7 separate regions of the Homo sapiens genome follow, and all the other regions are linked to region 2. Evidence: promoter capture Hi-C in 16 types of primary human blood cells and fetal thymus (Javierre and others, 2016). All regions are on one chromosome and are shown on one strand. Each heading gives the region's core, a stretch centred on a gene start or on the middle of the fragment in contact. The rest is flanking DNA. Distances are from core to core; before and after follow the strand shown.

Region 1 (3,935 bases), core at 1,211-3,710, 300 kb before region 2:
GGTGGGTGGCTGTGGCGAATTGATTGGTCAGTTTCACTTCCTCTGGAGGGCCCTCTTCAGCCTTTTTGTCCGTTTTTATCACAGGGCCTCCAGTCTGCAGGTCAGAGCTGAATGAGATACCAAAGTCCAGGGCTCCCTCAGACCCTGAGGGGAAGTCAGGGGAAGTCGATTGAGCCAAGACTTTGGTGTGCTCCTCACTTGCCACCCCAGCCCCTCACCGTGTTTCCAGTCTAGTTGACTATTAGCCAAGGCAAACTTACATTTACAAACAATATGCCTTGTTCCTTGTTTTGCTATTTCTTTCCTTTTTTTCTGCCTATTTTCTGTGTAATCACTTTGTGCTCCTGTGGTTATTTTGCTCTGACCTCTGGGGGATAGTCTCCATGAACTTAATTGGTTGCCTGGTTTATGGTTTCATGATTTAAAGAATTTTGAATCTTCCAGCCCTTGGATACACCAAAATATTGATAAAATCTGTTACAGACAGGGTTGAATGTTTTCGTAAATGTAATTGCAAACAGTTGATTCTTGGCTTTAATATAAAAGAGACATTTCTATCTTCAGTAGTCAGCAAAGCCAGTGCCTAATTATGGCTGGTCTGCCCGCTTTCTAATTTTCATGTGTGTGTATATGTGCGTGCGTGTGTTTTTCATAGTTTTTCTCTGAGACCTTGGTATCCTTTAGGACTGCAGCATTTTAAACACTGGCTTGTTTACAAACGGGTGTCACTGTTTATGTTGGTTTTTATCTTTGATCATTTGTGGTATGCAGTTGTGCAATTCCTATGTATGGAAATATTCAAAGTCTTGAATGAGACTGAAATGGCTTGGACAATGAGTTGCATGTGTGAAGGAGCCACACCAGCATTCATTTGTGTTTCTGTAGCAGTGTGCAATTTCCTAGTTACAGTTACAAGTGCTATATCTTTTGCTGCTTAAATTACTCTGACTACATGAGTGAAGCTTAATTCACAAGGAGTTGTCACGTGCTCTGGGTGAACTAGGAGCATATTTTGGCCTGCTCCATGCTTCTCTGAATCCACTTTGGAAGGGGTTCTCAAATGCGGACAGCTTAGATGTGCCTAACAGCTGTCGACATACAGTACGATGGCCTATTAAGGTTATGGTTTGGTTATATAACAATGGTGAAGGTGCATAGGTACTAGAAGTTGCCGAAGCTGCTGCTTCAGTTAACTCAGGTTGATTTTTTTTCTCCCCATGCACTGCAGCCTTTATCTTACTTCTGCAGAGGGGTCATTTGGAAACAGAGAGTTATTTTTTTCCCCCATCTGTCTCCAGAATGTGTCATTTGTTGTTTTGTCTTTTAGAGGTGTGTGATTTTTTTTTCCCCTTGTAGGAAATGGTCTGGGTTTTCTTATAACCATATATAACAGTCAGACAGAGGTAATTCAGATGATACTTGTGTTGGCTGAAGGAGGTTAGGTAATAGGTATTTTCTGAACATTAGAAATAATTATGATCCCCCTCCTTTTTTTTTTTTTTTTTTTTTTTAAACACACATGACCCATTCCAAGAACTAAGAGACTAAAGTAAACCTCATTTATTGAGTAGGATACTGCACTCCATCCAATACTGCGTGGTTAAGCTGGCCCTTTCCCAAATTCTGTTAACTCTCAAACCGTCTAGAGTGGGATCCTGGGATGAATAAAATCAGTAGAGAAAAGTGAAGCTTTTCCTATTTGGTTGTTGGTTACTTTTGCAGCACGGCATTCATGAGCTCAGACTTCATATTGGCAGCACTGCAGTGCTTAGAGCGGCACTGCAGAACAGTTACCAGGAGAGAATGTTCAGCTGTGACATACTTTGGTTAGTAGCTCACCCTGGCTGTCTTTGTCCTACCTGCTTTGATTTCCTTTTCTTTGGAAGAGCCTTACTTAGCCTGAGGTTCTCTGGCTCTGTTTTTTTTTTTGGTAGGAAACTATAAAGTATTACAGATATTTTTAAAAAAGAATGTTTTCTGCTCTCAAATTGCAGGTAGTCTGTTGCCTGTGCCTAATTATACCTTCACTAGTTGGATGATTGGGAACAAAGAGTAGATAGATTTTGTATGCATTTTTTTTCCTTTTTTAAAATATTGGGGCAGGGTCTTACTCTGTCACCCAGGCTAGAGTGCAGTGACACTGCCAGAGTTCACTGTAACCTCCAACTCCCAGGCTCAAGAGATCCTCCTGCCTCAGCTTCCTAAGTAGCTGGGACTACAGGCTTATACCACCACACCAGGTTAATTTTTAAATTTTTTTTGTAGAGATGGGGGTCTCATTATGTTGCCCAGGCTGGTCTTGAACTTCTGGACTCAAGTGATCCTCCTGCTTCAGCCTCCCAAAGTGCTGGGATTACAGGCATGAGTCTGTAACCCAAATGCTTGGCCCATATGCATTTTTTAAAGTATGCATGACTATAAAAGCCTTTGGCCAAATACGTTTAAACTATATTTCAACAAATATATATCACTTGCCTGTTATTGGTTTGTGGTAAGAGTTCCAGCTTTGGATAAAGCAACCTGAGTTTGAATCTTTTGCTGCTTAATAGTTGGATATTTTTAGGCTGTGAGAAGTTATTTAACTTCTGTGTGCTTGGGTTTCCTCATCTGTAAAGTGGGATGACAGTAGTACTTACCTCACAAGTTTAGGTGTTATGAAGATTAAAGAAGATAGTGTATGTAAAGCTCTTAGAGCAGCATGGTGCCCTAATAGCATGACGTAAATATTACCATCATCATCATCGTTATCAGATGTTTTAGTAACATAATAATATTATGGACATAATAATAGTCCTCCTTTTTTTGCTTCTCACCCCTTGGGCACGATTCATGAATGTATATGCCATTAGTTTTGTGTAGGTAGATGCCATCCTGACGATAGACTTTCCTGGTAAAAAAAAAGTTTGCTACTATTGCAGGTGCCACTTTGAGATAGTTGGATTTAATTTGTATAGGGTACAGGCTGGCTAATCTCATGAAATCAGCATTTTAAAACATAAATTTTCATTAGTTAAACTTTTTTTTTTTTTTTTAAATAGCAATGTGACTTATCTAATGAAAACTGTGACCAACACTGGCTTTTGCTTTGGGCTGCCTTGAATTTTCAGTGTGTTTTGTGTAACTAATTTTTGTTATGTTGATGATGGAACAGAGTTGAGTGCAGTCTTTTCTCCAGAGGTCCACTTAAATTAGGTTTAAGTGAAATATTTAAGAAATGTTTCTGCAAGCTTAAGGACACATTTGCCCTTGCGTGCACAAGCAAAGGCCTTAGACGGCCAAGGTCAGAATTCTTAACTTTAAATATTACACAGAGAAGACATTTTGCCCTATGACCCCTTTCCAAATATTGACTAGCCAGACACATCGGTGTGGTTTAGTGCAAACTCATTTCCATGAGGAGAACAAGTCAAAGTGGGCTAAAAGCATTATTTTCACCTCTAAAGAAGAGTTTAACGAAGCACATGAGATGATGCTTTCACCCATTAGAAAACTGAAAACAAGATTCATTTGGTAAGTAGGAGAGAATTATGTCAAAAAGAAATTGAAAGCAGAATTTACATTAGATACATTTGAGGAAGATAGCCCCATCCCTAGACAATCTAGAAGTGACTATTGAAAGATGATTATGTTCAGTTTGATACAGTGGTGATGGGGTTGCTAAACGTTTTTGAAATTTTGTAAAGAGCTAAGACTGATTGAGACTAGTCTCTCCAGAGTCAAAATACCAGTATTCCATTTTCTACATCAAAGATGTTTATTTTAACATTTTGACTTTGGTGCCAGCTCCCTAGAAAGTCATAGATCTCGCTCAAGCCAGAGGTGCCCAGACTAGTTATTTCTGTGCCAGAAGTGCTGTTTTCATTTTTCAGGCTTCAGTCTGGCTAATGTTTTCTAGTTCATCGCGTAAAAGAGAACAAAATGGATGCTTTGAAAAG
Region 2 (3,836 bases), core at 701-3,200:
CCTTCTCCTTTTCCTCCTTCCTGTTCCCTGGGAGGTGAACTTGGTAGCTGGAGGTGAAGCAGCTGGAACTTGGATATGAGCGTCTTGTTGATGATAATAGTGCAACAAGATAAAAGCAGCCCGAGCTGGCCTACATTTACATGAGAAGGAAATAAGACTCCATTTTGTTTAAGCTATTCTCTTGCATATATATATACACATATATATCAGCTAAGTGTAGCCATGTGACTAACTTGTGGCCAATGGGATGTCAGTATGAGTGGTAAGAGCAGTATCTTGTATATATATATGTGTATATATACACACACACATATATATACATATATGTATGCAAGAATATAAAATATACATGTGTGTGTGTATATATATACACACATATATATGTCCCTTGCAGCCAAGTCTAATTCTAACTAATACAAACTAACTCTAAAAAATGAATATATATTCACCAGGGGATAGGCTATTTCAAGCAGAGGGAAGCCTGTATAAAGGCTCAGGGAATGCCGTGGTTTTATGTGGCAGCAGATGAGACTGGAAATGAGTCAGGATGAGCCACAGTGGAGGATGAATTAAATGGGCAGGAGTGTGGTAGAAAGACCTGTTGGAGGCTATGAATGCAATCAAGGTGACAGACAACTGGTGCAATGATGGTAGTGGAAATGGAGGAGAGGGGATTGATTCAAGATGCATTTAGGACCAAGAATCGGGAGCTTGTGAACGTGTGTATGAGTACTGTAGACGGAGTGGGTGTGTCATCAGAGAAGATCTGAGCATTTGGGCTTGCTCTCCTCAGAGGCCCTGCGAGTGGAGTTCAGCTTTTCCTCATGGGGCAAATCTCACTTTCGCTCCAGTTCCTGGGGCTCAGAGTCCCTGGCCCAGATGCCTCTTGCCATCTCATCTTCACCCTGCCTGGCTTCCCTTGCTTGTTCCAGGATTGTTTCATAAAGAGGGATGTGGTTGGTCTTTAACCCTATGAATGCTGGCTGAGGATGCCTGCGGAACCTGTAGTGAAGCTTTCAGGGGCTGCTCGGGTTCTGGCTGGTAGGTGAACACTGTCCATCTTGCCGGCTGGGACACAGTGACTCTGGGTAGTTGTGTAAGAGAGGGGCCCTTGGCAGACAAACAGGTTCTTCTCTGTTGGTGGGCCAGCCAGCAGGTCAGTGGGAAGGTTAAAGGTCATGGGGTTTGGGAGAAACTGGGTGAGGAGTTCAGCCCCATCCCCCGTAAAGCTCCTGGGAAGCACTTCTCTACTGGGGCAGCCCCTGATACCAGGGCACTCATTAACCCTCTGGGTGCCAGGGAAAGGGCAGGAGGTGAGTGCTGGGAGGCAGCTGAGGTCAACTTCTTTTGAACTTCCACGTGGTATTTACTCAGAGCAATTGGTGCCAGAGGCTCAGGGCCCTGGAGTATAAAGCAGAATGTCTGCTCTCTGTGCCCAGACGTGAGCAGGTGAGCAGCTGGGGCAGAGGGATGGGGGTCACAGTCCTAAGGGAGGGCATTGCAGGTGGCCTCAGGGGAGAGCCTGGGGTGGCCCCTAAGACGTCCTCTTGGAACATTTTGGCAGAGTTGCCTCTTCGCCCTCATTATGGCTCAGTTTTTCCACCATGAAATGGGAGGGAGGGAGACAGGTGGGCAGGGGAGAGGTGGTAGAAGTGGCCTAGAGAACTGTTCCTGGGGTCTGGGACCTTTGCGAAGGGGTTAGAGCACCACGCTCCCTGCTATGTGACTGAGGTAGCAAGAGCACGCCCTCTTCCCATGTCTGAGGAAGACACCCTAGCCTCCTTGACTCACCTAGGTCAGTCCTCTTGAGCCCCAACAGCTCTGTGCTCCCCAGCCCAAGGAAGGGGTAACAGGATTTCGGGCAGTTGCCCCTGCAGAGGCCCCCTGGGCAAGTCCCCTGCGCCATGTCCCTTCGTCTCCTTCTTCCCCTAACCAGGCCTCCCTCCACCTGTCTTCTCAGAGCAGGTAATGGCAAGCATGGCTGCCGTGCTCACCTGGGCTCTGGCTCTTCTTTCAGGTGGGTCTCCGACCCTGACTTCAACGTGGGGGTGTGGGTGGAGGCTGGCCAGAGGGCCCTGTCCACCCTGGGGGAGGAGAGCCCAGGCCCTGATTACCTAGTCCCTCTCCACAGCGTTTTCGGCCACCCAGGCACGGAAAGGCTTCTGGGACTACTTCAGCCAGACCAGCGGGGACAAAGGCAGGGTGGAGCAGATCCATCAGCAGAAGATGGCTCGCGAGCCCGCGTGAGTGCCCAGGGGAAGGGGTGTAGGCGAAGGGAGGAGACAGCTGGGCCATGCCATGATGACCTGCCTCTGCTGCCTCAACCTCTGTGGCCGCTGCTGGGACAGAGGAAAGGAGCGGTGCTAGCTCTGTCTGCAGATCCCGGCCATCCTGGGCTCTTTAGCGCCCTCTGCCTGCAGCCCCCGCCTTGACAACTCCGTAGCTGTTGCCCCCTTGCTCACTGAGGCGCGGGACCTGGGATCAATCGGGAGGACGCCCGCTGCAGTCCCCAGAATCAAAGGATGATGTGGCGCATCTATGTTTCTTTGGAGAGTGTTGTAGGTCTGGATTTGTATGGGCAATGTGTTTGTGCTTCGTGCGTGAGTTGTTACTGGCCAGGGCTAGGACAAGAGCCCTCGACCCTGGGGCCAACGCCCTGCGTCCTTGGTTCCCCCAGAGGATCAGTGCGCGATGACTTGGGGACAAAGGAGATGATGGAGGCTAGCAGTCTGACGGCCTGGATATCTGTCCCCTTCTCCAGGACCCTGAAAGACAGCCTTGAGCAAGACCTCAACAATATGAACAAGTTCCTGGAAAAGCTGAGGCCTCTGAGTGGGAGCGAGGCTCCTCGGCTCCCACAGGACCCGGTGGGCATGCGGCGGCAGCTGCAGGAGGAGTTGGAGGAGGTGAAGGCTCGCCTCCAGCCCTACATGGCAGAGGCGCACGAGCTGGTGGGCTGGAATTTGGAGGGCTTGCGGCAGCAACTGAAGCCCTACACGATGGATCTGATGGAGCAGGTGGCCCTGCGCGTGCAGGAGCTGCAGGAGCAGTTGCGCGTGGTGGGGGAAGACACCAAGGCCCAGTTGCTGGGGGGCGTGGACGAGGCTTGGGCTTTGCTGCAGGGACTGCAGAGCCGCGTGGTGCACCACACCGGCCGCTTCAAAGAGCTCTTCCACCCATACGCCGAGAGCCTGGTGAGCGGCATCGGGCGCCACGTGCAGGAGCTGCACCGCAGTGTGGCTCCGCACGCCCCCGCCAGCCCCGCGCGCCTCAGTCGCTGCGTGCAGGTGCTCTCCCGGAAGCTCACGCTCAAGGCCAAGGCCCTGCACGCACGCATCCAGCAGAACCTGGACCAGCTGCGCGAAGAGCTCAGCAGAGCCTTTGCAGGCACTGGGACTGAGGAAGGGGCCGGCCCGGACCCCCAGATGCTCTCCGAGGAGGTGCGCCAGCGACTTCAGGCTTTCCGCCAGGACACCTACCTGCAGATAGCTGCCTTCACTCGCGCCATCGACCAGGAGACTGAGGAGGTCCAGCAGCAGCTGGCGCCACCTCCACCAGGCCACAGTGCCTTCGCCCCAGAGTTTCAACAAACAGACAGTGGCAAGGTTCTGAGCAAGCTGCAGGCCCGTCTGGATGACCTGTGGGAAGACATCACTCACAGCCTTCATGACCAGGGCCACAGCCATCTGGGGGACCCCTGAGGATCTACCTGCCCAGGCCCATTCCCAGCTCCTTGTCTGGGGAGCCTTGGCTCTGAGCCTCTAGCATGGTTCAGTCCTTGAAAGTGGCCTGTTGGGTGGAGGGTGGAAGGTCCTGTGCAGGACAGGGAGGCCACC
Region 3 (4,012 bases), core at 840-3,339, 490 kb before region 2:
TTTTCTTTTTTTGAGACCCAGTCTCACTCTATTGCCCAGGCTGGCGTGCAGTGGTGTGATCTCAGCTCACTGGAACCTCTGCTTCCTGGGTTCAAGCTATTCTCCTGCCTCAGCCTCCCGAGTAGCTGGGATTACAGGCGTTCACCACCGTTCCTGGCTAATTTTTGTATTTTTAGTAGGGATGGGGTTTCACTTTGTTGGCCAGGCTGGTCTCGAACTCCTGGCCTCAAGTGATCTGCCTGCCTCAGCCTCCCAAAGTGCTGGGATTACAGGTGTGAGCCACCGCGCCTGGCCCCAAGAAGGGCTATTCAATGGCTCTTACCCTAAAAGAATCCTCAGTGCAAGTGAACCTGTCCTTTTTATGAGGAACATTAACAATGAGCTGTTGAAAATGTTCATGATGCTGCTTTTTGTTGAATGTCTAGTGTGGCTTGCTCCCCCTTAGGATCCATTTTGCCTGAGATGAGCATCTCTGTTCTAAGACCTGACACCCTCAAATCTTATTCAGGAATTTTTCTTACCAAGAATTTAGATGTAAATTCAGTTTCTACCTCTTGGAAAAGCAAAATGAACAAAACAAAATGTTGTTAAGAGGGAATCATCCCTGCTACTAAGAGACTTAACTCTGCTGGCAACATAAAAAAATAGGAATGACTTGTCAGTCTGTGAAGATAATCTCTAACCGGCAAGCCCTCCAAGCTGTTCTGTTAATGGAGTTACTAATCTCATACTCAGGTCCTCCATTCCATTCCTCTCATCTAGGCAAAGTCTTCTGACAATGCTACATTTTGAACAATAGTTAGATATGTGGGATTATCACTCATTGTCAATTTTCCAAGAAAGTTATTTAGTGCGCAGTATGAATTGCTTATCCAGTCCCCTGAAGGGAATGGGGTAAAAAGCTGAGAGATCCTAACTGCAGTATTCTGAATTCTGCTAATGTTTAAGCCACAATTTACTGAAAACCTTATGATTAGACATTAGAGACCAGGTGCACTGGCTCACGCATGTAATCCCAGCACTTTGGGAGGCTGAGGCAGGAGGATCACCTGAGCCCAGGAGTTTGGGACCAGCCTGGGCAACATAACAAGACCTTCTCTCTACTAAAAAAGAAAAAAAAAATTAGCTGGGCATGATGGCATGTGCCTGTAATCTCAGCTACTCAAGAGACTGAAGCACCTTGAGCCTAGGGGATTGAGGCTATAGTGAGCTATAATCGTGCCACTGCATTCCAGTCTGGGCAACAGAAAGAAACCCTATCTCAAAAAACAAAACAAAAAAAAGGCTGGGCACGGTGGCTCACGCCTGTACTCCCAACACTTTGGGAGGCTGAGATGGGCGGATCACAAGGTCAGGAGTTCGAGACCAGCCTGGCCAATATGGTGAAACCCTGTCTCTACTAAAAATACAAAAATTAGCCAGGCATGTTGGCAGGCGCCTGTAGTCCCAGCTACTCAGGAGGCTGAGGCAGGAGAATCACTTGAACCTGAGAGGTGGAGGTTGCGGTGAGCTGAGATCACACCACTGCACTCCAGCCTGGGCAACAGAGCGAGACTCTGTCTAAAACAAAACAAAACAAAACAAAAAAGATATTAATGATGAGCACCAACACAGTAAAAGAAAAGTTATTTTAGCTGTCAGGGAAAAAAAAGAGTAGAAAATGAGAAAGAAAAATTATTTTAGCTGTCAGAAGAAAAAGTGTAGAAAATGAGGAAGGTCTGTAACACCTACCTCCTTGTGCAATACATGGGTACACGCCATTGGATGCAGCTCACTGGGCTGGACGAGTTTCTGGCACATTAGACATAGCTTACAGGTGGCTGGAGCCTGTAGAACAGAGGCGGCATGATCAAAAGGTAAGGAACCTCTGGGTCTCCTTGCCTTTTATGCCCATAATTCCATGCAGCAAAAAGATTTATATCAAAAGAAACAAAAATCCAAATATAGATTCTTGCCTAAAATATTTGCATTTTCCCAGTAGGGCTGCAAATAACCCAACTGATGGTTTCTTCCTGCACTCCACCTGTAAACCCACTCCTTCCTCACCTCCAGCTTCTCCATATCACAGTGTTCAAAGAAAAAGAGTCTTACATGTGAAGACCTTCCAGGATATGAAACTTGGGCAGAAGGCAAGAACATTGGGGTACTGATTTGGGCCAGTGGAGCAGGGAACAAGGCCCGGATGCGACCAAGTGGCTGTAGGTAGAAACATTGTCAGAGTAAGGGAAGAGAGTCTGAGTAACAGAGCATATCACAAAAATCACTTATTTCCCAGTCCAGGAAAGGAAAAAAGCAGACTAGCTACCTCTGACTGGAATGCTTCTTCCCACCCCACATTTTTCTGAAATCTACCTCTTCCCCAGCCCTCAACATGCCTAAGTTCTCTCCCAAGTGGCTTTTCTCACCTGAGTACTTGCTGCCACCCGCTCATGTTCTGCCAGTCGTGCAGCAACCAACTGGATAAGTTCCTCCATGGTCAGGCCTGCCATGGTGGTACGTGCTGTCTTGATCTGCTGAAGAATGTTGGTCATCTGGGCCCTGAGGAAAAAAAATGTTGAGGGAGAGAAAGCCTATGCTATACCCACGGGGAACACCCATGTAACCTCCTCTGTTTTAACCCATAAGCATTTCTCTGATAGAGACATCTGAATCAGTCCTTGAAGGTACTTACTTATTGCACTGTGGGAACCGGGTCAGCAGCTTCTCCAGGATCTTCTCCAGTTTGTCTACTGGTTGGGGCCGGGGAGTTTCAGCAGAAGCCTTAACACCGCCCAAGCCTGGGGGAGGTGGGATGGAGGCGGCAGGGGGCATGTGTGGACCGTGGGGGCTGACAAGGGAACCCAAGCCAGGGCTATTTCTGCCATGGGAGCCAGGAAGGGGTGAGGAAGGCTGGCTGGGCTGGGAAAGGGCAGGGTTCAGGATTGGGAAAGACAAGGAGCGGGGATCTGCACTGGGCATAACCATGGGCATTGTGACCTGCCCAATGGAGAAGGGCATCCGAGGAGCCAGAGAGGGACTGGGTTGAAACACCTGAAGCATGAAGTCTGTCTGCAGAGGAGAAGAGGTAGAGGACGAGAGAGAAAGGAAGAAAAAGAAAGTTTAGGAAACTGGAGAAGACATCAATGAACAACTCTTGCACTGAATAGGGATGGTCCCAATATCTTCATAAAAAGAACACGCAGAAGACTCTGCTGCTGCTACCAACACAGAAAGGTGAACTTCCCCCCAAAGCCACTCTCTTACCTCTGATGGGGGTGGAGGTAAAGTGGGAGTAGGGATTTGAGGAAGGCTGCTCAGCTTGGCTCCGTTCCTCACTAACTGGATATGACTATTAAATTGGTCCTAAAAAAAAAAAGGATTATTTTTACTGCTGAACTGACTCAGGCTCTCTAGAAAGACAGCACCATCCATTATCAGGAAAACAAAAGGAATAGTAGGATAGGCCCCAAATGGCAATGCAAAAGGCTACCTCCCAATTGCTGGAAGTGTTAAGCACAGACTAACACTGACTGAATGATGACTCATAGATACACTTACACGAACATTCTTTTTCATTATCCGAACTCCATTCAGTCTCGTCTCCCACTCCTGTTTGGAACGAACTGTCTCCAGTGTTGGGGGAGTTGACCTTTCAAGAAACCAACAGGAATTTACAGATTTAAAGAAAGCCCTGCTAGGAACAGTGACTCACGCCTGTAATCCCAGCACAAGAGGCCAAGGCGGGCAGATCACTTGAGCTCAGGAGTTCTAGACCAGCCTGGGCAATGTGGCTAAACCCTGTCTCTTAAAAAAATGCAAAATTAGCCAGGTGTGGTGGCTCACGCCTATAGTCCCAGCTACTTGGCAGGCTGAGGTAGGAGGATGGCTTGTGCTCAGGAGATGGAGGTTGCAGTGAGCCAAGATGGCACCACTGCACAACAGAGGGAGACCCTGTCATTAAAAAAAAAAAAAAAAAAAAAGCCCTATTCCTAATTCTCTGAGATAGCAAAAGCAAAATAGTAGCTGGCTAATT
Region 4 (3,963 bases), core at 571-3,070, 360 kb before region 2:
TATGTTTCCCAGGCTGGTCTGGAACTCAAGCGATCCACTCACCTCTGCCTCCCAAGGTGCTGAGAGATCACAGGCCTGAGCCACCGTGCCCGGCCCCAACTACCTTTCAACACCAATAAAATAGCTTGCATTTGTAGAGTCGTGGAATTTAAGACTGCTATGCTAAAGGTTCTAGTACTTTTCTCCTAAAGTGTAATAGTTGTAATAAATTTGGAAAAATAGAAAGGACCAAAACAACACATCTATAATCCTACCACCTTAACCTAGTAACTATGACCATGCTTGAGTGTTTTCTCCTCATCTTTTTTCATGTCCTCTGTTACCCCTTTTACATAGTTTAAGCATCATGGACACCTCTTTCTGGCACTATATGTCTGGGGCCAGAAAAACCAACATTCAAATTCTAGCTTACCTACTTTCCAGTCCAGTGATCTTAAGAAAGTACATAATTTGTGTCTTGGTTTTAACATCTGCTGGCAACTCCATTTTAGAGTTGTTAAAGAGTCCCAGCTATTGACTGGCACCCACTAGGTACTTGATAAATGGTAGCCGTTATAGTTGCACTTAACATCATACTAGAACCATTTTTCTATGTAGCAATGCAGTTTTTATAATCATAACTTTTAATGGCCATATATTCTTTTCTAGAGACAGGGTCTTGCTCCGTCACCGAGGGTGGAGTGCAGTGCATGATCACAGCTTACTACAGTCTCAAACTCCCAGACTCAAGCAATCCTCCTGCCTTGGCCCCCCAGTAGCTGGGACTACAGGCACACACCACCATGCCCAGTGAATTTTTTTTTCTATTTTTTGTTGAATCAGGGTCTTGGTGTGTTTCCTAGGCTGCACTTCTGGCCTCAAACAATCTACTGGCCTCAGCCTCCCAAAGTGCTGGGACTACAGGTATGAGCCACTACACATAATATACTCTACTGAATGCACTCAACGACACATTTTTGTTTGCTATTTTGGGGGGTGAGGGGAATGAGGGTCTATGTTGCCGAGGCTGGTCTTGAACTCCTGTGCTTAAGCAATCCTCTTGCCTCAGCCTCCCAGGTCACACTCTTCTTCCTGTGGACAGACTTGCCAGTGGCCTCTTTTTGTGAATCTAGTAAGTGTGATAAAGGGATATATATATATATAATTTTTCCTACACTGGAAATTCTTAGTCAAAATAAATCAGTATTTTTATGGATTTTGGACATATTTCCAAATTCTCAACAAAAGGGCTATATGCTAATCTGTAAGGACTCCAGCAATATATTAGAACTGGTTTTACTGTACTTGAACCTGAATTAGATATTAACGTTTCTCTTTCTTTCTCTTCCTAATGTTTTAATTTACACTTTTTGGAAACAAAGTTACACTTCCTATCATGTCTACTGAAATACTTATATATTAGTTCCTTTAGGATATTTTTATTGATAATATAAGGTATCTATGCTTCATCTATAATATTTACTGCGTTTATTTTCCTTAGTCTGCTGCTGAGCCTTATTTTTCTGGTTAATATGTTTTGATACGATTTCTATTCTATTTGGCAAGTCTTTCAACACTACCCTTAAGAAAACCTTTTAGGCCAGGGATGTGGTGGCTCACGCCTGTAATCCCAGCATTTTGGGAGGCTAAGGTGCGTGGATCACCTGAGGTCAGGAGTTCAAGACCGGCTTGACCAACACGGGGAAACCTCGTCTCTACTAAAAAAACACAAAAATTAGCCGGGCATGGAGGTGGGTGCCTGTAATCCCAGCTATTCAGGAGGTAGAAGTTGCAGCGAGCCAAGATCACACCACTGCACTTCAGCCTGGGTAACACAGTGAGACTCCATCTCAAAAACAAAAACAAAACAAAACCTTTTTATTACGCAAAATATCAAATGTATACAAAAGCCGAGAGAATAACATCTCCATTCAGAGAGAATAAACCTCCATGTATCAATTACCAGCTACAGCAATCATTTATGGCCTGCATTATTTCAGTCATACTCCCAACTACTGCCCCACTCCATCCCCAGACTATTTTGAAGCAAACTGAGGATATATCATTCCAAGTATAAATATTTCAGTATGCAATGCTTAAAAGATTTTTAAAGTCAGGCACGGTGGCTCATGCCTGTAATCCCAACACTTTGGGAGGCTGAGGCAGGAGGATCACTTGAGGCCGAGAGTTCAAGATCATCAGCCTGGGCAATATAGTGAGACCCTATCTCCACAAAAAATAATAAAAAAAATTAGCCCGGCATGGTGGCATGCACCTGTGGTCCCAGCTACTTGAGAAGCGGTGGTGGATCACTTAAGCCCGGGAAGCCAAGGCTGCAGTAATGGTGCAAGCTGTAATGGTGCAAGCTGTAATGGTGCCACTGCACTCCAGCATGCTTGACAGAGCAAGATTCTGTCTCCAAAAAAATTTTTAAAATATTTGTGTTTTTCTTCCATTTGACTGATTTTTCTACAGCCAGAGCTCATTGAAGCCTATTAACTTAAGACAAGAATAATGAAGATATCTAGTTTAGTTACTACTTTTCTTTTCTTTTCCTTTCCTTCGTCTTGAACTCCTGGGCTCAAGCGATTCACCTGCCTCAGCTTCCCAAAGTGCTGAGATTACAGGTGTGAGTCACTACTCCTGGCCTAGTTACTATTCATAAAGGTATAAATGATCCAGATGTCCATGAAAGAAAAAATGGGCAAATCAACTGTGGTATACTTCTTTTTTTTCTTTTTGAGATAAGGTCTCAATCTGTCACCCAGGCTGGAGTGCAGTGGCACAATTATAGTTCATTGTAGCCTTAATATCCTGGGCTCAAGTGATCCTCCCGCCTTGACTTCCCAACCTGCCCTGGCCTCCTAACGTGCTGGGATTACAGGCATGAGCCACTGTATACTGCCCTGTCTTAAAAAAAAAAAAAGAAAAGAAAAAAATATTGGGACAACTGGAGAAATCTGAATATGGTCTTTGGATTAAGTAATAATAGTATTATATCAATATTACATCTCATGATTTTAATAACTATCCTATAGTTATTTAAGAAAAGTCCTTGTTTTTAAGAAAACATGCTGAAATATTCAGGGATAAGGGAAATGAGTGCAAATGCTTCAGAAAAACCCACTACGTTAGTATATACATATAGAAATAGATATAGACACAGCAGGGCATGGTGGCTCACGCCTGTAATCCCAGCACTTTGGGAGGCCTAGACAGGCAGATCACTTGAGGTCAGGAGTTTGAAACCAGCCTGGCCAACATGGCAGAACCCTGTCTCTACTAAAAATACAAAAATTAGCTGAGCGTGGTGGCGGGCGCCTGTAATCCCAGCTACTTGGGAGGCTAAGACACAAGAATATCTTGAACCCAGGGTGGCAGGGGGGTGGAGGCTGCAGTGAGCCAAGATTGCACCACTGCACTCCAGCCTGGGCAAGAGTGAGACTCCATCTCAAAAAACCAACAACAACAACAAAAAAAAAACTAAAACAAAATAGATACAGACACAATAATTAGGCAGATACGGTAAAATGTTAACAATTGGTGAGTCTAGATGAAGATACTTCTTTCTAAATTTCTGTAACATTTGTGTAGTTTTGAAATTACTGCAAAATAAAAAAACTTAAAATATTTCCCAGTTCCAACATCAGAATGGTGAAGAGGCAGGACATTTGTAACATTACATTTTTACTTACAGTAACAAATTCTTGTTGACTATTAAAATCCCCCTTTGTACAACCTGTCACGGGTCACAAGGTTACAGTTTTTTTGTTTGTTTTTTGTTTGTTTTGAGATGCAGTCTTGCTCTGTTGCCAGGCTGGAGTGCAGTGGCACAATCTCGGCTCACTGCAACCTCCGCCTCCTGGGTTCAAGCGATTCTCCTGCCTCAGCCTCCTCAGTAACTGGGACTATAGGCGCCTGCCACCACAACCGGCTAACTTATTTTTAGTAGAGACGGGTTTCACCATATTGGCCAGTCTGGTC
Region 5 (3,905 bases), core at 545-3,044, 320 kb before region 2:
CCACTGCGCCCGGCCAACTTCATCTATTTTTCTTGCCTAATTGCCCTTTCTAAAACCTCCAGGACCATGTTGAATACAACTGGCAAGAGCGGGCACACAAGTTTTGTTGTTGTTGTTGTTGCTGTTGTTTCTTGAGATGGAGTCTCACTCTGTCACCCAGGCTGGAGTGCAGTGGTGCAATCTCAACTCACTGCAACCTCCGCCTCCTGGGTTCAAGTGATTATCTGCCTCAGCCTCCCAAGTAGCTGGAATTATAGGCACCTGCCCCCATGCCTGGCTAATTTTTGTATTTTTAATAAAGATGGGGTTTCACCATATTGGCCAGGCTGGTTTTGAACTCCTGACCTTGTGATCCATCTGCCTCGGCCTCCCAAAGTGCTGGGATTACAGGCGTGAGCCACCATGCCCGGCCCAGACACTTTTTAAGAGGCCTGCACTCCAGCCTGGGTGACAGAGCGAGACTCCGTCTCAAAAAAAAAAAAAAAAAAAAAAAAAGGCTTTATTTTACCTAGACCTGTTAGAAAGGATCTAATAAACAATGGCAGAGAAAAAAATAAAGCTTCCTACCTGTCTTGGGGACAGAAAGAGATTCAACTACCTTTTTGGGGAAATTATTATTATTTTGAGACAGAGTCTCCCTCTGTCACTCAGGCTGGAGTGCAATGGCATAATCTTGGCTCACCACAACCTCTGTCTCCTGAGTTAGTTATTCTCCCATCTCAGCCTCCCGAGTAGCTGGGATTACAGGCACGCGCCACCATGCCCAGCTAATTTTTTAATTTTTAGTAGAGACGTGGTTTCACCATATGGGTGAGGCTGGTCTCTAACTCCTGACCTCAGGTGATCCACCTGCCTCAGGCTCCCAATGTGCTGGGATTACAGGCGTGAGCCACCTCGCCCAGCCAGGGAAATTATTTTTAGCTTTTATGCAGCTTAAGTGTCTTCTTTTTTTTTTTTTTTTTTGAGACGGAGTCTCACACTATGGCCCAGGCTGGAGTGCAGTGGCACGATCTCGGCTCATTGCAAGCTCCGCCTCCCGGGTTCATGCCATTCTCCTGCCTCAGCCTCCCAAGTACCTGGGACTACAGGCACCTGCCACCACGCCCGGGTAATTTTTTGTATTTTTAGTAGAGACAGGGCTTCACCGTGTTAGCCAGAGTGGTCTCGATCTCCTGACCTCGTGATCCGCCTGTCTCAGCCTCCCAAAGTGCTGGGATTACAGACGTGAGCCACCGCGCCCAACCCTTTTTTTTTTTTTGAGACAGGTTTTTTTCAATATTAGGTTCATTGACACACATGGCATATGTCTTCTTTTAGGTTTTTCAGTGATGTTTTGTATTCTCCATAAAACTTTTACATTTATATAATTTTTTTTTCAGGCACAATGTTATGTGCTGGATATAGAGTTGTGAACTAAACAGATATGGTTCCTGACTCTGGGGATTGCAGTCTAGTTAGACTGACAGCCATACACGAAATGCAAGTTCCACTTAAAAATGCTACAATAGGCCGGGCGTGGTGGGCTGACGCCTGTAATCCCAGCACTTTGTGAGGCAGAGGTGGGCGCATCACCTGAGGTCGGGAGTTTGAGGCCAGCCTGACCAACACGGAGAAACCCCGTCTCTACTAAAAATACAAAATTAGCCGGGCATGGTGGCACACACCTGTAATCCCAGCTACTCGGGAGGCTGAGGCAGGAGAATCACTTGAATCTGGGAGGTGGAGGTTGCGGTTAGCCAAGATTGCACCATTGCACTCCAGCCTGGGCAACAAGAGTGAAACTTCATCTCAAAAAAAAAAAGCTACAGTAGATTAATAATTATAATAATTGTAGTCATTTTACAGAGCACCAATTTTGTACCAAGCACTATTTTAAGTACTTCATATATAGTAATTTATTTAATCCTTCCAACATTCCTATGATATAGGTTTTATTATTATTATTTTTGAGATGGAGTCTCGCTCTGTTGCCCAGGCTAGAATGCAATGGCACAATCTTGGTTCACTATGCCTCCGCCTCCCAGGTTCAAATGATTCTCCTGCCTCAGCCTCCCAAGTAGCTGGGATTACAGACTCCAGCCACCACCCCCAGCTAATTTTTGTATTTTTAGTAGAGACGGGGTTTCACCATGTTGGCTAGGCTGACTTCGAACTCCTGACCTCAAGTGATCCACCCACCTCTGCCTCCCACAAGTGCTGGGATACAGGCATGAGCCACGGCGCCTGGACAGGTTTTATTATTTTATCTATTTTGCAGTTGAAGAACAGAGGCCTGGAGTGGTTATTTTCTCAAGATCACACAGCTAATAAGTTATGGAGCCAGGATTTGAACCCAGGGACTTCATCTCCAAAGCCTGTGTTTTTTTTTTGAGACAGAGTCTCACTCTGTCACCCAGGCTGGAGTGCAGTGGTGTGATCTCAGTTCACTGCAACCTCTGCCTCCCGGTTTCAAGTGATTCTCCTGCCTCAGCCTCCCGAGTAGCTGGGATTACAGGCATGCACTGCCACGCCTGGCTATTTTTTTTGTACTTTAGTAGAGACGAGGTATCACCATATTGTCCAGGCTAGTCTCGAACTCCTGAGCTCAGGCAATCCTCTATGTTCTGAATGGGCAAAATGTTTGGAGACCCAGAAACATTTTTACGGATTGTAAAAATCCTGAGTTTAGCTGTACCTTAAAGGAGTAGTGGATTTTTTTTTTTTTTTTTTTTGAGACAAAGTCTCACTCTGTCGCCCAGGCTGGAGTGCAGTGGTGCGATCTTGGCTCACTGCAACCTCTGCCTCCCGGGTTCAAGCGAGTCTCCTGCCTTAGCTCCTGAGTAGCTGGGATTACAGGCAGGTGCCAGCACGCCCGGCTAATATGTATTTTTAGTAGAGACGGGGTTTCACCATGTTGGTCAGGCTGGTCTCGAACTCCTGATCTCGTGATCCACCTGCCTCAGCCTCCCAAAGTACTGGGATTACACGCATGAGCCACCGTGCCTGGCCAAGGAGTAGTAGAATTTTAAATAACAGATGGAAAAGCTTCCAAGGTATTCCAAATACAAGGAAAAGCTGAGTAGAAGTTAAGGAGTAAGCACACAACCTGCAGTCGTCCTGGGTGGGGAAAGGTGGGTGGGAAAGTAAATGAAACGTGACAGGCTGAAAAAGTAGGTTGAGGCCAGGTTGCAAAGGAGTTTGAATACCCTGCTCTGAGAGTTTAAATTCTACCAAACAATGAATCCATAAATACCTGGTGTTTGGAAGTTATTTATTATACTTTAAGTTCCAGGGTACATGTGCACAACGTGCAGGTTTGTTACATATGTACACATGTGCCATGTTGGTGTGCTGCACCCATTAACTCGTCATTTACATTAGGTATATCTCCTAATGCTATCCCTCCCCACTCCCCCTACCCCATGACAGGCCCCAGTGTGTGATGTTCCCCTTCCTGTGTCCAAGTGTTCTCATTGTTCAATTCCCACCTGTGAGTGAGAACATGTGGTGTTTGGTTTTTTGTCCTTGCAATAGTTTGCTGAGAATGATGGTTCCAGCTTCATCCATGTCCCTACAAAAGACATGAATTCATCCTTTTTTATGGCTGTATAGTATTCCATGGTGTATATGTGCCACATTTTCTTAATCCAGTCTATCATTGATGGACATTTGGGTTGGTTCCAAGTCTTTGCTATTGTGAATAGTGCCACACTAAATATACGTGTGCATGTATCTTTATAGCAGCATGATTTATAATCCTTTGGGTATATACCCAGTAATGGGATGGCTGGGTCAAATGGTATTTCTAGTTCTAGATCCTTGAGGAATCACCACACTGTCTTCCACATGGTTGCACTAGTTTACAGTCCCACCAACAGTGTAAAAGTGTTCCTCTTTCTCCACATCCTTTCCAGCACCTGTTGTTT
Region 6 (3,731 bases), core at 161-2,660, 260 kb before region 2:
ACAGCTTGCCAGTCTACTAAATTGAGGAAATAGAGGGTTTCAGTGTGATCCTTTTCACTTTTCCTCCCCACTGCTTCCAAATATTAAACTCCCTTGGTTAAAAGAATAGGTGCCTGTACTTATTTCAAAATCTAACCCCTCTACCTGTTTGCCTTGTATATTCTAGGAGTAATTTATGTACTTCGTAAGAAAAATTAGTGCAGATGTACATAAAGTAAAGGTATACGTCTTCCATTTTTTCCTCCTTTAACGTTTTATACTTCCAGGTGTCAACTGCTAGTAGTTAAATCTTCTTCTGTACATGTACACATTTTGTGGACACTTAAAATACACAAGGGTAATGTATGTAGTATTATCTAAGTTTTTTAAAAATTTAATTTTGATATTGAACGATAGTTTCACAAGATGTCTCCATTGAGGGAAACAAGGTAAAGGGTACAGGAGATCTCTGTTGTTTCTTACAACTGCCTGTGACTCTACAATTATCTCTAAAGAAATGGTTAATTAAAAAATAAACTATAGAAATATTTTCATGTCAGCGTATTGACCTGTTTCTTTTAAATGGCTATGTAAAATGTTATTATATAGATGTGTATTACTTTATTTCACGTTTCCCCTATTGATGGACTTTTAAGTTCCTTCCATTTTTCATTTTCACCAATATTGCCAAAGGTGGACCATCCTTGAATTTGTAGGTATATCCTTGGTTGGTATATATGCACAGCCAAGTTTTAGAAGAGGAGATCAAAAGATGGGCATATTTGAAATGTTGGTAAGAGTTGGCCAGACCATCCTCCAGACAAGTTTATACTTTCGTTAGCAGGTGAGATAGAAGCTCTGTGTGTTCACCTGCACTGTCCTGATCCCATTCTGCCACTTCTTCTTGGGGACTTTATATCTATATCTATATCTATATCTATATCTATATCTATATCTATATCTATATCTATATCTATCTATATATTTTTATTATACTTTAAGTTCTAGGGCACATGTGCACAATGTGCAGGTTTGTTACATATGTATACATGTGCCATGTTGGTGTGCTGCACTCATTAACTCATCATTTACATAAGGTATATCTCCTAATGCTATCCCTCCCCACTCCCTCCACCTCACAACAGGCCCCAGTGTGTGATGTTCCCCTTCCTGTGTCCGAGTGTTCTCATTGTTCAGTTCCCACCTATGAGTGAGAACATGCGGTGTTTGATTTTTTGTCCCTGCGATAGTTTGCTGAGAATGATGGTTTCCAGTTTCATCCATGTCCCTACAAAGGACATGAACTCATCCTTTTTTATGGCTAAATAGTATTCCATGGTGTATATGTGCCACATTTTCTTAATCCAGGGACTTTGTTTTATTAACTAATCCTTTTCCATTTAATATATCTACTTCCCTGTTGGTTCTCTTCTGTCTCCTCATCCTGTAGCACATCCTCCAAACTGATAGAGCTTTGGTTGCTGTCAGTTCTTTTGTGCTGCTATAGGAGAATACCTGACACTGGGTAATTTATAAATAACAGAATTTTATTTTCTCATAGTTCTGGAGGCTGGGAGGGCACTGGCAGGTTCATTGATGGGGATTTGGTCTCTGCTTCTTAGACGATGCCTTGAATGCTGTGTCCTCACATGGCAGAAGGCAGAAGGGCAAAAAGGGAGTAACTCCCTCCATCAAGCCCATTTTTAAGGGCACCTAATTGCATTCATGAACGGAGGAACCCTCATGACTTAATGATGTCTTAAAGGCCCGACTTCTTAATACCATCACGTTGGCAACATCTGACTTTTAGAGGCGGAGACATTCAAACTGTGGCCCTAGCCAAGTCCTTTGTGTGCTTTTACTTATCTTTACAACCATCCTATGAGATAGTGCCTGTTTCTCTGCCTACTTGTTAAGCGATTATATTCTTCTGGATTTTGTCCTTGGCTCCTCTATCCAACCCACCTGTAGCCCCACCTTCTCTTCTGTTCCCTCATCCAAACCAGAGAGACCAGGATTTGAATCTGGCTCCATTATTTTCTCCCTAAGAGACACGGAATGATTTACTTTGTCTCTATGTTTCTGTTTCTTTCTCTGTAAGTAAGAGTGGGGAGACTAGAGCTACCTATCTCAGGATTGTGTGGAGTAAATGAATAATGTGTGTAAAACATTTAAAATAGTGTCTCATGTACACTAAGTGCTTAATAAATGCTAATAATAGGAATAGTAACAACAGTATAGTTACATTGTTATTATAAATCTGTATCTGTGGTACTCTTAGCTTAAGTTCGTACAAAAATATTGAGCTGCCTGTTAGAAATCTACATTTGGATGCCTCCCCAGATATCTTAAACTCAGTTTATCTAAAGTCAGAGTCTTTCTGTGGCTTCAGTGCTTAGTGACTGTGTCCGTGAATAAACTACTTATTTTCTTTAAGCCTCCATTTCTCCATTTATGAAAGGGTGATAATGAACTTATTTTATCAATATTAAATGAGATAATTCTTGTAAAAGTATTTAGCATAGTGCTGGTATATACTAATATCTTAATAAATATTAGTTGCTATTATTATTATTCCTTTTAAATGCTGATCCCCTTTTTGTCCTGTTCTGCCCAGAAAAAGAGCCTCAGGATAGCTTTGCCTGTCTGCCTGTCTTCCTTATCCTTCATATGCAACCAGTCAGCAAGTACTGTTATTTTGTATTTTCATTTTAAACATCTTAATTTTTATTTATTTTAAAATTATTTATAGAGATGGGGTCTCACTATGTTGTCTAAGCTGGTCTTGAATTCTTGGGCTCCAGTGATCCTCCCACCTCTGCCAAAGTGCTGGGATTACAGGTGTGAACCACCACACCTGGCCTATCAAGTACTGTTGATTGTGCTTCCGAAACATGTGCTTGCATCCAACCACTCCTTATCATTTCTTGACACAATTATTGTGGTAATCTCCTAATTGCTCTCCTGGCCTCTTGGCCATCTTGTACCTTTCATCCTGAGTTATCTTTATAGTAGGTAGATCTGCTCATATCACTCAGCAGAAAGGCCTCTGATGGGTCTCTCTTACCTGAAATATAAAGCCTCCAAGGCCCACTACACCACAGTCATCTTTAGAGCCTCCCCTCTTGTTCTGGGACCCATGGGTCCTACAGTATATGCAGACTACTGACTGTTCTGTGACTGCACCCTGTACTCTAAATCTCATACCTTTGTCCCTGACCTGCTGTTGCTGTACCTGCCTTCTTTTTGCTTAGAGGGTTGTCCCCTCAAGCACTCCCTGCTAATAAGCACTCAGCCTTCCACCCCAAACATCTAGTCTGTCTGGTGAATTCCTGGTGATTCTTCAGTGGTCTGTCTCAAATATATCTTCTACGCTCTTTTCTCTTTAGTCTTAACTGCCATCCAAGGCAACATTAGTTAGTCCCTCATTATAAGAGGCAATATAAGCTGGTGAGAGGTATATACCCACAGTCCTAGCTACTTGGGAGTCTGAAGCAGGAGGATTGCTTGAGGCCAGCCTGGGCAGCATAGCAAGACCTTGTCTCTTTGAAAAAAATAGAAAGAAAATGCTGGGTGTGGTGGCTCACATCTGTAATCCCAGCACTTTGGAAGGCCAAGTAGGGAGGATTGCTTGAGCTCAGGAGTTCGAGACCAGCCTGGGCAATACAGCAAGACCCCATCTCTACAAAAACTAAAAAAATTAGCTGGGCATGGTGGCACATGCCTGTGGTTTCAGCTACTCTGGATGCTGA
Region 7 (3,925 bases), core at 660-3,159, 450 kb before region 2:
CTCTACCAAAAATACAAAAAATGAGCCAGGCATAGTGGCACACACCTGTGTTCCCAGCTACTTGGGAGGCTGAGGTGGGAAGATCACTTAAGCCCAGGAGACAGAGGCTGCAGTGAGCCAAGATTATGCTACCACATTCCAGCCTGAGTGACAGAGTGAGACTCTGTCTCAAAAATAAATAAATAAATAAATAAAGTTTTTTAAAAAATTAAAGTTTGATCAGAGACTGTTGCTTAACTCATTGACAATTTCAATATAAGCAAAATACCTGGTGATTCTTCATTTCCTCTTCTCTCCTTTGCTGAAGCTGCTTTAATTGCACTTGGAGCTGATTCTCCACTTGCCTCTGTTTGTCCAGGACCTCCTGGTAACGCTCTTTCAACAGGGTTCTCTCTGTCATCATTTTATCCTATTATGAACAAGACAAGAAAAGCTTATTTCCTAATTTAATCACAAGAAACATTCACCAGTGCCTGTCCAAGGCATTGTATAGAGCTCTATGACCGCACTATCCAATAATGAAGCTACTCTACTAGCCATATGTGGCTATATTCAGTAAAATATGATGAGATTGGCTGGGGATGGTGGCTCACACCTATAACTGTAGTACTTTGGGAGGCTGAGGCGGGCGGATCACTTGCATTCAGGGATTCGAGACCAGCTTGGGCAACATGGCAAAACCTGGACTCTAAAAAAATACAAAAATTAGCTGGGCATGCCAGTACTCCACTGTAGTCCCAGCTACTTGGGAGGCTGAGGTGGGATGATCGCTTGAGCCTGGGAGGCAGAGGTTACAGTGAGCTGAGATCGTGCCACTGCACTTTAGCCTAGGCGACAGAGCAAGACTCTGTCTCAAAAAAGCGTCCGGGAACATGATTCCTTACTGGTTAACAACACTGAAAACTGATGGATCCACTAAAGAGGCCTGGGAACCTGGTATTCAGACTGAACAACTCAGCAAGCTTTCATATAAAGTCGGGATTAGAAGAGAGACTCCTAGGCAAGGCACGGTGGCTCCAGCCTATAATCTCAGCTTTGAGGGGCCAAGGCAGGAAGACTGCTTGAGGCCAGAAGCTGAAGACCAGCCTGGGCAACATAGTAATACCTGGTCTCTACCAAAAAATAACAATAATAAATAAATAAATAGAAGTGCTTCTGAAAACAGTTTAGCTCTGCCACCCCCATGTCAGTAAATCAAGAAAATCAATGGTTACCTTTCAAAGGGACACTAAAATTTGAAGAGGGTCAACTTAAAACACATTTAGTATGAAGTAGCCCATATAATATTTAAACTGAGAGCACTAAACTGAATTTTTTCATTAAATAATAACCATTTTCAAAGAAAAAAAATTTTTAAAACAAATGAGGAAAATATCCTATTATAATCATTTTAACAAAAGGCTCTCAAGGCTGGGCGCAGTGGCTCACGCCTGTAATCCCAGCACTTTGGGAAGCTGAGGCGGGTGGATCACTTGAGGTCAGCAGTTCGAGACCAGCCTGGCCAACACAGTGCAATCCCATCTCTACTAAAAATACAAAATTAGCCAGGCATGGTGGCACATGCCTGTAATCCCAGCTACTTGGGAGGCTGAGGCAGGAGAATCACTTGAACCTGGTAGGCAGAGGTTGCAGTGAGCAGAGACTGTGCCCCTGCAGTCCAGACTGGGTGACAGAGCGAGACTCCGTCTCAAAATAAATAAATAAATTAATTAATTAATTAATAAAAAAGGCTCTCAAGATAGGACCTTGGCTTTGGGACAAGCTAATCTTTAGTCCATGTACTGAAATGTGACTAATGTGTCCCAAACAGCTGATTACTCAGCATCACACCTTTCCAGGGATTCTGAACCTGGCTTCTACAGGTGGACCCCGGAATCTTTGAACTCTCTGCAACTGATGAATGTATATATTTTTCTGAGATAAGAATTCAAAGTTTCCAAAAGATTCTGAAAGAGGATCTTAACCAAAGAAAAGTTGAAACCAGTAGATTATTCTTTTCTGAGACAGAGTCTCACTCTGTCGCCCAGGCTAGAGTGCAGTGGTGCAATCTCGGCTTACGGCAACCTCCGCCTCCCGAGTTCAAGCAATTCTCTCTGCCTCAGCCTCCAGAGTAGTTGGGATTACAGGCACCCGCCACCACGTTCGGCTAATTTTTGTATTTTTAGGAGAGATGGGGTTTTGCCATGTTGGCCAGGCTGGTCTTGAACTCCTGACTTCAGGTGATACCCCTGCCTTGGCCTCTCAAAGTGCTGAGATTACAGGTGTGAGCCACTGCACCCGGCCTCACTGCCTTTTTAAAAGCATGTGGACCTCACTACCACCCAAAAGATAGAGCCAAACAAAACTCAACCCTGGGCCTCTTCTGGCCCAGTAACTTGCTGGGTTTCCATTCGTTCCTGTTTCATCTACTTGACTGTTACAATTAAGTCCCAAGTTGCTAGTCTCTATTTTAAAACTTTTCTTGGCTTCATCTGGTTAATGTACACCAGTAACTTTTTTCCGTATGCCCTTCAATTTCTTCAACTTGCACCAAATATCCACTCTCTTATCTGGTTGCTACAAGCACTTTCCCTTTTTATACCACTCTTTATAAATTAACATATCTTACCCTAAAGACCTCTTCCTGGGGTGCCTTTCCCAGCATTACCTTCCCTTTAAAAAGTGTACATTTAGATATCCATATACTTAAAGGTGGAAGTTTTAGCCACAAAAGGCCAGGGATGGATCAAAGGGAGCATTTTAACAAAGGTAAGTGTGACGTTCTCTTCAAAAGCCAACTATCTGGGGATAAAATTAAAAAGACACAAGTAAATAATACATGAAAAAAAGACTGGATGGAATTTGACTAAAAGCTTAACAGTATGAAAAAACTGCCAAAATAAGTCAATGTAAGCTTAAGAAATAGTGTCTAGAATGAGAGATACTGAGAGATCCCACTGTATTATAAAGTAATTATACTGTATCTGTACTATTATATATGGTTCTCAAGATCACTTTTTAAAACAAATATTGATAAAATAGAACATGTCTAAGTGAAAGTAACCAGAATGATGATAAAGAAATGGAAAATAGTATCAAAATAGTATCAAAAAGAATACTAAAAACATCTGAGGATGTTTCACCTGGAAAGGTTTGAACTTGGGGAGTAAGAGAATAAGAGCAGGAGGCATAAAAAAACTTCAAATATACACATGGCTAACAAGCAGGAAAGGAACTGGATTTATTCCATAAAGCTCAAGAGAAAGCTACAATAAGAACTTTTTTTTTTTTTTTTTGAGACAGATTCTCACTCTGTCACCAGGCTGGAGTGCAGTGGTGCAATCTCAGCTTACTGCAACCTCTACCTCCCGGGTTCAAGCAATTCTCCTGCCTCACCCTCCTGAGTAGCTAGGACTAGAGGCATGCGCCACCACACCCAGCTAATTTTTGTATTTTTAGTAGAGATGGGGTTTCACCATATTGGCCAGGATGGGCTCAATCTCTTGACCTCGTGATCTACCCGCCTCGGCCTCCCAAAGTGCTAGGATTACAAGCATGAGCCACTGTGCCCGGCCTAAAGCAAGAAGCTCACTGCCACCTCAGCCTCCTGGGTTCAAGCAATTCTTCTACCTCAACCTCCCAAGTAGCTGGGATTACAGGCTAATTTTTGTTTTTTTGTTGTTGTTTGTTTGTTTTTGAGAGAGTCTCACTCTGTCACCCAGGCTGGAGTGCAGTGGTACGATCTCGGGTCACTGCAATCTCTGCCTCCCAGGTTCAAGCTAATCTCATGCCTCAGCCACCCAAGTAGCTGGGATTACAGGCACACGCCACCACACCTGGCTAATTTTTTGTATTTTTAGTAGAGATGGGGTTTCGCCATGTTGCCCAGGCTGGTCTCGAACTCCTGCGCTCAGGCAATCTGCCTGCCTCAGCCTCCCAAAGCGCT

Evidence for each region. The method cuts DNA at HindIII sites, captures the fragments that hold promoters and counts their contacts. A CHiCAGO score of 5 or more calls a contact.
Region 1: a fragment that was not itself captured here is called in contact with the fragment with the promoter of APOA5 in region 2 in 16 of 17 cell types (fetal thymus, erythroblasts, non-activated CD4 T cells and 13 more); the score reaches 15.6 in fetal thymus.
Region 3: a contact is called between a fragment that was not itself captured here and the fragment with the promoter of APOA5 in region 2, in 2 of 17 cell types (non-activated CD4 T cells and erythroblasts). The highest score is 6.9, in non-activated CD4 T cells.
Region 4: a contact is called between a fragment that was not itself captured here and the fragment with the promoter of APOA5 in region 2, in 15 of 17 cell types (neutrophils, naive CD8 T cells, activated CD4 T cells and 12 more). The highest score is 16.9, in neutrophils.
Region 5: a contact is called between a fragment that was not itself captured here and the fragment with the promoter of APOA5 in region 2, in 17 of 17 cell types (naive CD8 T cells, total CD8 T cells, activated CD4 T cells and 14 more). The highest score is 18.6, in naive CD8 T cells.
Region 6: a contact is called between a fragment that was not itself captured here and the fragment with the promoter of APOA5 in region 2, in 13 of 17 cell types (naive CD8 T cells, neutrophils, total CD4 T cells and 10 more). The highest score is 12.0, in naive CD8 T cells.
Region 7: a fragment that was not itself captured here is called in contact with the fragment with the promoter of APOA5 in region 2 in 15 of 17 cell types (naive B cells, total B cells, naive CD8 T cells and 12 more); the score reaches 14.2 in naive B cells.

The regions. Positions count from the first base shown.
Region 1 is chr11:117,092,769-117,096,703 of GRCh38, reverse strand. All of the region lies in intron 1 of SIK3 (SIK family kinase 3), which reads left to right. Among named protein-coding and RNA genes, the nearest start is that of SIK3, 3.7 kb to the left of the region's middle. The HindIII fragment of the contact is 1,538 bases long and covers 1,692-3,229 here.
Region 2 is chr11:116,789,993-116,793,828 of GRCh38, reverse strand. It overlaps APOA5 (apolipoprotein A5), which reads left to right and starts at 1,950. Exons shown (of 3, transcript NM_001371904.1): 1 at 1,950-2,017; 2 at 2,132-2,243; 3 at 2,762-3,836. The coding sequence starts at 1,969. The coding sequence ends at 3,701. The HindIII fragment of the contact is 6,000 bases long and covers 1,016-3,836 here.
Region 3 is chr11:117,280,930-117,284,941 of GRCh38, reverse strand. RNF214 (ring finger protein 214) reads right to left here. Exons shown (of 15, transcript NM_207343.4): 9 at 3,538-3,628; 10 at 3,244-3,342; 11 at 2,672-3,048; 12 at 2,406-2,538; 13 at 2,092-2,196; 14 at 1,732-1,827. Among named protein-coding and RNA genes, the nearest start is that of BACE1, 33 kb to the left of the region's middle. The HindIII fragment of the contact is 5,984 bases long and covers 1-4,012 here.
Region 4 is chr11:117,152,871-117,156,833 of GRCh38, reverse strand. All of the region lies in intron 2 of PAFAH1B2 (platelet activating factor acetylhydrolase 1b catalytic subunit 2), which reads right to left. Among named protein-coding and RNA genes, the nearest start is that of PAFAH1B2, 11 kb to the right of the region's middle. The HindIII fragment of the contact is 8,620 bases long and covers 1-3,963 here.
Region 5 is chr11:117,112,817-117,116,721 of GRCh38, reverse strand. No RefSeq gene overlaps it. Among named protein-coding and RNA genes, the nearest start is that of SIK3, 16 kb to the right of the region's middle. The HindIII fragment of the contact is 2,465 bases long and covers 562-3,026 here.
Region 6 is chr11:117,053,762-117,057,492 of GRCh38, reverse strand. All of the region lies in intron 1 of SIK3 (SIK family kinase 3), which reads left to right. Among named protein-coding and RNA genes, the nearest start is that of SIK3, 43 kb to the left of the region's middle. The HindIII fragment of the contact is 6,637 bases long and covers 1-3,731 here.
Region 7 is chr11:117,240,929-117,244,853 of GRCh38, reverse strand. It overlaps RNF214 (ring finger protein 214), which reads right to left. Exons shown (of 15, transcript NM_207343.4): 5 at 269-409. Among named protein-coding and RNA genes, the nearest start is that of RNF214, 10 kb to the right of the region's middle. The HindIII fragment of the contact is 1,890 bases long and covers 965-2,854 here.